Linked DNA regions of Homo sapiens: regions 2 and 3 are each linked to region 1. Evidence: promoter capture Hi-C in 16 types of primary human blood cells and fetal thymus (Javierre and others, 2016). All regions are on one chromosome and are shown on one strand. The core of a region is centred on a gene start or on the middle of the fragment in contact, and the rest is flanking DNA. Distances in the headings are between cores, read along the strand shown. Region 1 holds the start of RASAL3 (RAS protein activator like 3). Region 2 has its middle 7.3 kb from the start of SYDE1. Region 3 holds the start of ILVBL-AS1 (ILVBL antisense RNA 1).

What was found. The method cuts DNA at HindIII sites, captures the fragments that hold promoters and counts their contacts. A CHiCAGO score of 5 or more calls a contact.
Region 2: a fragment that was not itself captured here is called in contact with the fragment with the promoter of RASAL3 in region 1 in 2 of 17 cell types (naive CD4 T cells and naive CD8 T cells); the score reaches 6.6 in naive CD4 T cells.
Region 3: a contact is called between a fragment that was not itself captured here and the fragment with the promoter of RASAL3 in region 1, in 1 of 17 cell types (naive CD4 T cells). The highest score is 5.5, in naive CD4 T cells.

Annotation. Positions count from the first base shown.
Region 1 is chr19:15,463,241-15,465,939 of GRCh38, reverse strand. RASAL3 (RAS protein activator like 3) reads left to right here and starts at 1,396. Exons shown (of 18, transcript NM_022904.3): 1 at 1,396-1,435; 2 at 1,563-1,909. The coding sequence starts at 1,582. RefSeq lists enhancers at 1,053-1,162, 1,803-1,932, 2,033-2,172. The HindIII fragment of the contact is 11,932 bases long and covers 1-2,699 here.
Region 2 is chr19:15,098,709-15,101,407 of GRCh38, reverse strand. No RefSeq gene overlaps it. Among named protein-coding and RNA genes, the nearest start is that of SYDE1, 7.3 kb to the left of the region's middle. The HindIII fragment of the contact is 465 bases long and covers 1,076-1,540 here.
Region 3 is chr19:15,122,544-15,125,242 of GRCh38, reverse strand. It overlaps HACL2 (2-hydroxyacyl-CoA lyase 2), which reads left to right. Exons shown (of 16, transcript NM_006844.5): 2 at 174-318; 3 at 1,667-1,868; 4 at 2,000-2,127; 5 at 2,213-2,351; 6 at 2,439-2,550. The coding sequence starts at 184. It overlaps ILVBL-AS1 (ILVBL antisense RNA 1), which reads right to left and starts at 1,083. Exons shown (of 3, transcript NR_186314.1): 1 at 1,018-1,083; 2 at 738-779. RefSeq lists a silencer at 1-3 and an enhancer at 1-717. The HindIII fragment of the contact is 596 bases long and covers 953-1,548 here.

The DNA.
Region 1 (2,699 bases), core at 147-2,646:
TATTTATATTACTATGTAATATAAATATTATATTTTTATTTTATGAGATCTATATTATTTTTATAGACCTCATTTATAAATAATAATAATAATAAGGGCCGGGCACGGTGGCTTACGCCTATAATACCAGCACTTTGGGAGGCCAAGGCGGGCAGATCATTTCAGGTCAGGAGTTCAAGACCAGCCTGACCAACATGGTGAAACCCCGTCTCTACTAAAAATACAAAAAAATTAGGCAGGCATGGTGGTGAATACCTGTAGTCCCAGCTACTCAGGAGGCTGAGTAGGGAGAATCACTTGAATCCGGGAGGCAGAGATTGCAGTGAGCCAAGATCGTGCCACTGCACACCAGCCTGGGAGACAGAGCGAAACTCCTTCTCGATAAATAAATCAATTAATAATAATAAGAGTAATAATAAATCTTGCCATCTTCCAGAAGCCCCCCTTGTACCCTCTTCCCAGCCACCAGTGCCTCCAAAAGAAACTGATACCCTGCTTGTTAGACATGGTTTTGCCTGCTTTAGGACTTTATGTAAATGGAATCACAAAGTGTATACTCTTCATTGTTTTGGGGTTTTTAAATTTATTTATTATTGCTTTTTAGAGATGGGGTCTCCCGAGGGCAGGGAGGGGAAAAAGAAAAAAAAAAGTTAGATATGAGGTCTCCCTATGTCACCCAGACTGGAGTGCACTGCCTATTCACAGGCATGATCACAGCTCACTGCAGCCTCGAACTCCTGGCCTCAAGCGATCCTCCTCCCTCAGCCTCCTGAATAGCTCAGATTACTGGCATTTTATGGCTTTGGTTTTGGTTTTGGCTCAACATTGTTTGTGATTCACCCAAGTTAAATCATTCTTTAGTTTGTTCTCACTGCTGTATGATATTCTGCTGTGCGAAGAGATCACAATTTATTCCTTCTCCCACTAATGGGTACTTAGGCTGCTTCCAATGTGGGGCTATTATGCATTGTGCTGGGGGGGCATATCTATTGGACGTCTACCTAGCAATGGAATTGCTGAGTCAGAGAAGATCCAGCTAGTAGTGTTAGTAGATCCTGCCAAACCGTTTCCCAACATGAGTGAATGGGTCTACACTCCGGCCAACTGTGGATTAGAGTTCTAGGTGCTTTGTATTCTCGCCAGCATTTGTTCAGCCTGTACTCATTTTGCAGAGAAGGCAACGGAGGCTCAGAGAGAGGGGCAAGTGCTGCCTCCCCGTCAGGGAGGCAGTCTGGGTCCTTCTTGCTAGAAGCCTGGTAACCCACCTCCTCTCTTCTCCTCCCTCGAACCTCCAGCAACCTGCCCGCACTGTGCCCTCCCAGCCTGGCTGTGGGGTGGGGTGGGACAGAGAGGGTCACGTGGAGTTGGGTTCCGAGGGAGGAAGCCAGGCGGGGTGCAGACGGCTGCTGATTCTGGGGCTGGTCAGGAAACCAAGGTAAGGGAGGGAGTGGAGGTGGGGGCAGGGGGATTCCTGGAGGCAGAGCTGAGGGTGGGGAGGGGGCCGAGATGAGGGCAGTATGTGGACAGACACTGGGCACTACTGTCACTCTCTCGTCCCCCAGGAGACCCCCCCCCCCAACCATGGACCCACCGTCGCCAAGCCGGACCTCCCAAACCCAGCCCACAGCCACCTCTCCGCTGACTTCCTACCGCTGGCACACAGGGGGCGGTGGGGAGAAGGCGGCTGGAGGGTTCCGCTGGGGCCGCTTTGCTGGCTGGGGCAGGGCCCTGAGCCACCAGGAGCCCATGGTCAGCACCCAGCCAGCCCCTCGCTCGATATTCCGTCGGGTCCTATCTGCGCCTCCCAAGGAGTCACGGACCAGTCGCCTTCGACTCTCCAAGGCCCTCTGGGGGAGGCATAAGAACCCACCGCCGGAGCCAGACCCGGAGCCGGAGCAGGAGGCCCCAGGTACATGGTTCCCCCACCCTGAGCTTGGGCCGGGCTGGGAAGCCGGATGCTTGGGTTTTGTCTGCCTCCGGAGCATCAACCATACAGACACAGGAAGTTGTGGGGAGTGCAAAAGCCCAGCAGGAAGCCGCTGGGGCCCAGCTACCCTGTTCCCTCTTTCCCCCTAAAGAGGGTAGGAGGAGTTGCCGGGGTCCTGTGGGCAGAGGGTCCATCTGAGGAAGGAACAGTGAATGTAAACCCGTGATAGTATTGTCCAGAGGCTAAACGGCTCTTGGCCCCAACGGGTCTCTCCTTCAATGGCTCAGGCCCATCCTTTCCTACCTGGATATCCATCTTCAGCCTGCCTCCTACTCTCCTACCTTCTAGCTTCCGTGTCTTTGTTCTGAGCCCTTAAGCCTCAGCCTCTCCATCAGTTCAGTGAGAATAATGATCTCCATTTTGGAGAGTATATAATTTTATTTGCTCATATTCATTCATTTATTCAAGCAGAGGTTTGTTGAGCTTCTATTGTATGTGCCAGGCCCTGATTTAGGCACTGAGGACACACTAGTGAAAGAGACAGATGACCCTCCCTGCCCCATGGAGCTCACAGTGTAGTGGAATTGACAGGAAATCCATCAACAAGAAAATGACAGATGGGCCAGGCATGATGGCTCACACCTGTAATCCCAGCACTTTGGGAGGCCAAGGTGGGTGGATCACCTGAGCTCAGGAGTTCGAGACCAGCCTGGCCAACATGGCAAAACCCTGTTTCTACTAAAAATACAAAAAAAAAAAAGTATCTAGGCAT
Region 2 (2,699 bases), core at 59-2,558, 360 kb after region 1:
GTTCTGTGGGGCTACATCTCCATTCTACCAGCTCCCTGGGGTGCTCAGTTCCTGGGGGATGGGAGATAGAGAAGGTTTTGGGGAGCAGGACCCAAGCTTCCTCCACCCGCTGTGGTCATTCCCATTTGTTTCCACACCTGAGGCTTGCGTCTATCTGGCATCTTCCAGGAGAAGAAGGTGAATACCTCAGCCTGCCTAGGCCTCCCTGGCTGGAAGTCAGACCTCAGAGGAACCAGCAAAGGGGTGGCTGCCCAGAGATATCCATCACAGTAGCATTCAGGAGCTGGAGGGAGAGGGGATGATTGTATATAATGAAATGGTTATGAATTCTGTTAGCATAAAGCAGCTTCCTGAGGCAGGGCACAGTCTCACCTGGGTGACAGTCAGTGGTACAGCATTGCTTGACCAGAGCCTCCCATTGACCCTTGGAAAAATCTGGCCAGACAGCTATAGAGCTGAAACTGAGGTGCAGGAGGGGTCCATAGTTGCTCCATGCCACCTCCAGAGTGGTCTCTGTTTATCAGCTGCAAGGCTGTGGAGCTTTCCTGCTGGCTAGGCCCCTGCACAGCCTCAGGGATAGACTCAGCAACTGGCCACTGCAGCCATGCCAAGAGCTCTCCAAGCTGGACATGGTGGTTCACACCTGTAGTCTCAGCTATTCTGGAGACTGAGGCAGGAGGATCACTTGAGCCCAGGAGTTTGAGGCTTCAATGAGCTATGACTGCACCACTGCCTCTAGCCTGGGCAACAGAGCGAGACCCTGTCTCTCCCCGTCTCTCTCTCTCTTTTTTTTTTTTTCTTGAGACAGGGTTTTCACTCTTGTTGCCCAGGCTGAAGTGCAGTGGCGCAATCTCGGCTCACTGAAACCTCCGCCTCCCAGATTCAAGCGATTCTCCTGCCTCAGCCTCCTGAGTAGCTGAGATTACAGGCGCCCACCACCATGCCTGGCTAGATTTTGTATTTTTTAGTAGAACTCCTGACCTTAAGTTATCTGCCCTCCTTGGCCTCCCAAAGTGCTGGGATTACAGGTGTGAGCCACCGTGCCCAGCTGAGGCCCTGTCTCTTAAACAAAGCTTATCTGATGTCCAGCTCCCAGACCTGGTGTGCTGGTGTGGACCCCCTAGACTCTACAGGCTGGGTGTACCAGAGGAAGCAGGAGCAGCCTGCAGAGAGGTGGCTGATCAGGTGAGGACAGGTGGCTGGGTGGGCAGGGCTTTGACAGAGATCCCACATCAGGCTTAGCTCCTGCCTCCTTCCTCCCATGCTTCTGGGCTCTCCTGCACATTCCAAAGTAAAGTCTAGCCCTTGTCTGGCTCCTGAAGAGTTGCCTTCAAGCTGGTGGAGTATCCTGTGTGATGAGAGTCTCTTTGTATACCTGGAGGTCACACCAGAGAGTTTATGCCAAAAACGTGTTTTATGGTGGAGGCCTTGGGCCTCACTGTGTCAGTTTGACCTCTCGAGGGGCTTGAGGCTGAGTAGCTAAGGTCAGTCACACAAATGGTCAGCCATACTATGTGGCTGTTATGGGCTAAATCAAGCTTGTTTAACCCGCCACCCACAGGCTGCATGTGGCCCAGGAAGGCTTTGAATGTGACCCAACACAAATTCGTAAACTTTCTTAAAACACTATGAGATTTTTTTTTTGCGATTTTTAGCTCATCAGCTATCTGTTAGTGTTAGTGTATTTTATGTGTGGCCCAAGACAATTCTTCTTCCAATGTGGTCCAGGGAAATGAAAAGATTGGACACCCATGGGCCAAATTATGTCCCCTTCAGTCCCTTGCCAAATTCCTATGTTGAAGTCTTAACTCCCGGTCCCTTAGAATGTGACTGTATTTGGAGATAGAGTCTTCTCTTCCTCTTTGGTCTCCCAAAGTGCTGGGATTACAGGTGTGAGCCACTGCTCCTGGCCATGTATGTATTTTCTTTCTTCCTTCCTTCCTTCCTTTCTTTCTTTCTCCTTCCTTCCTTCTTTCTTTCTTTCTTTCTCCCTCTCCTTCCTTTCTTCTTTCTTTCTCTCTCCTTCCTTCCTTCCTTTTCTTTCTTTCTTTCTCTCCTTCCTTCCTTCTTTCTTTCTCTCTCTCTACTTCCTTCCTTCCCCTTTCTTTCTTTCTCTTTCTTTCTTTCCTTCTTTCTTTCTTCTTTCTTTCCTTCTTTCTTTCTTCCCTTCCTTTCCTTCCCTTTCCCTTTCCCCTTCCCCTTCCCCTTTCCCTTTCCCTTTCCCTTTCCCTTCCCTTCCCTTCCCTTCCCTTCCCTTTCCCTTCCCTTTCTTTTCTTTTTCTATTTTTTTTTTCAGGGTCTCTCTCTGTCGCCCAGTCTGGAGTGCAGTGGTGCGATCTTACAGGCCTGTGCCACCACGCCCAGCTAATTTTTGTATTTGTAGTAGAGACAGGGTTTCACTATATTGGCCAGGCTGGTCTTGAACTCCTGACCTCAAGTGATCCCCCGACCTTGGCCTCCCAAAGTGCTGGGATTACAGGCATGAGCCGCCACACCCAGCCCCACATGTATGTATTTTTCTTCCTCCAATTTTCTTTCTCGTTGGCTGCAGGCCTGATACGCTGTGCTTTTGGTACCTGGTGGGTTAACCACCCGCAGGCACATACAGACCCATTCGTTGAAAGACAAAATGCAGGTGGAGGGACCGGTCAGGTTTGGGCAGAGCTCAGCACTTCTGTGGCAGTCATGGTGAGTTGGCG
Region 3 (2,699 bases), core at 1-2,500, 340 kb after region 1:
TCACCCCGAGCCTAGGCGCACAAAGGGCGTGGTCTGGCAGGGTTGGGGGCGTGGCCGCACAGAAACTGGCGGCAAGGGTCGTGGCCCTGGATCCTGCTGCGAGAAGGGGCGCGATTTCTTCCGGAGAGGTTCCCTGTCGCGCCCAAGTCTGGGAAGTGCCCTTTCTCTCTTAGGTACCACCTCATGGAGACCCCCGCGGCCGCCGCCCCCGCTGGGAGCTTATTCCCCTCCTTCCTGCTCCTGGCCTGCGGGACGCTGGTGGCCGCCTTGCTGGGCGCCGCTCACCGCCTGGGGCTCTTCTATCAGCTGCTGCACAAGGTGCGGGGCACAGAATGGGAGGTGGGCTGGGGGCAGTCAAAGAGGGAGGGGCCTCGTGGTGCTGCTTCCAGCTCACTCATTGTGCAGGGTGGGAAAGCGAGCCCCGACTAGTCCAGAGGGACTGGTAAGAGGTTCTGTCCAGGGCCCTGTCTCCATTGCCACGCTGTGTATGGAGGCCTGGACTTTGCCACTGGTAAGAGAGAACACGGAAGCTGCCGCTGCCGGGGCACTCGCACCCCACCTACCTCCTTCCCCAGTGACTCTTTTCACAGAACAGATGGACAGCACTCTGTGCTCCCTAACCTGGATGGGATAAATGGGGCAGAGGGCAGGCTCCAGCGAGGGGGTGGCAGTGACAGTTTCATAACAGTTGCCCTCTGCTGAGCTCAGTACTGTAGACTTTCTTACCTACCCCTTACCTTTTCCTTGAAAGTAGGTGCTGTTCTTTCTGTCTTCATTTTCTGCAAGAGGAAGCTGAGGCTCAGAGAGATTGTGTGGTGGTTTGCCCTAGGTGACATGTTTGGAGAGAGCTGACCCCACAGGTGTCCCCCTAAACTCCTTGCACCTCTGTTTGAAATTTACCCCTTCTCCAGACCCCTTCCTCAACCCTTTCTCTCCTAGCAGGGACCAAGCTTGACCTCTCCCTCCCCAAACCCTTCTCTACTGCTTCCTCTGCTAGCCAGGAGTGATGCCACTGACCTTCAGGACTTAGGAGATTTAAAGCAAGCCTTGGATGTGTAGGGCTGTGAGGCAGCTGGAGTTGGGAGGCCTCGGCACAGTCTGTGCCAGCAGCTCACTCCCGTGCCAGGCACATGGTGGCTGGCAGCCTGTCAACTAAGCCCTGGGCCTGTTTAGCGTCCATCAGGAGGGCATCAGGGAGGCTGGGATCAGGAGCCCAGCTGCCAGGCTCTGCAAGGATACTGGAGGGCAGGGAGGAGTCACAGCAGATGGCTCCCTGCCATCTGCTCTGCGTGCGTTGTGCCCCTGGCCAAACCCCCTGGGTTATATAACCCTCTCCTCTCTCCCTGATTGCCCTGCCATCCTGGAGACAGGCAGTGTAACAGTGGGGCACTTAAGAGCGTGGGTTCTATTGAACTTTCAGTCTTACTTGGGCAAGCCTTGATGTCCTCAGCTGTAAGAGGGATGTAATGACAAGAGGATCTGATAAGATGTTATGCCTTGGTTTGAGCCTGGCATGTAGTATAATATATGCCTAACCAAGACCAAGCTTCTCTTGACCTCTCACCCTGCTCCTGCCCCCTTACCTGGGGCAGGGGGATTGCCCCCTTTCCCAGCTGCCCTCTGCCCTGGCCTTTAACTTTATTGCTCCACCTGTCCTTGGGCCCAGGTGGACAAGGCAAGCGTCCGGCATGGCGGAGAGAACGTGGCCGCTGTGCTGAGGGCCCATGGTGTGCGGTTCATCTTCACGCTGGTCGGTGGGCACATTTCCCCGCTGCTGGTGGCCTGTGAGAAACTGGGCATCCGTGTGGTGGACACACGCCATGAGGTCACGGCCGTCTTTGCTGCTGATGCTATGGCCCGCCTGTCCGGTGAGGGCATTGCAGAGAGGGCTGGGGACTGGTTGGACTGTGGGCTAGAGTGTCTGTGAGGGTAGGGGTTTTTCAGAGGTGGAAGAATGGCCAAGAGAGTGGGCATGGCTGTGATGGGCTCTGTGTTCCAGGGACGGTGGGCGTGGCGGCAGTGACAGCAGGCCCTGGCCTCACCAACACGGTGACTGCGGTGAAGAATGCTCAGATGGCTCAGTCCCCAATCCTGCTTCTGGGTGGGGCTGCCAGCACTCTGCTGCAGGTACCCAGTCCTTGGGGGCCAGTGGGGGCCTAGGGGGGCTTGAAGGGCTCATGCGATAACCCTGCCACACCTCTGTCTTTGCCAGAACCGGGGTGCGCTCCAGGCTGTTGATCAGCTGTCCCTTTTCCGGCCACTCTGTAAGTTTTGTGTGTCTGTGCGGAGGGTGCGGGACATTGTGCCCACCCTGAGGGCCGCGATGGCTGCCGCCCAGTCGGGCACCCCAGGTAGGTGGAGGATGGTGATGCTGAGCAGTGCTGGGGCCGAGGGGCTGGGGACATGTTATGGACTCAGCGTCCTCCCTGTCCCTGCAGGTCCGGTGTTTGTGGAGCTGCCCGTTGACGTGCTGTACCCCTACTTCATGGTCCAGAAGGAGATGGTGCCAGCCAAGCCACCCAAGGGCCTCGTGGGCCGAGTGGTCTCCTGGTGAATAGCCCCACCCCTGCCATTCCCTCCTTTATCCCCCGTTCTCTCCTGCAGCTTCCAGCCCACACCCATCCTCCTTTGATTCACATGTGGACTGGGAGGAGACAGCTGGGGGGAGAGCATTCCAGGTAGAAGGAACAGCATGTGCA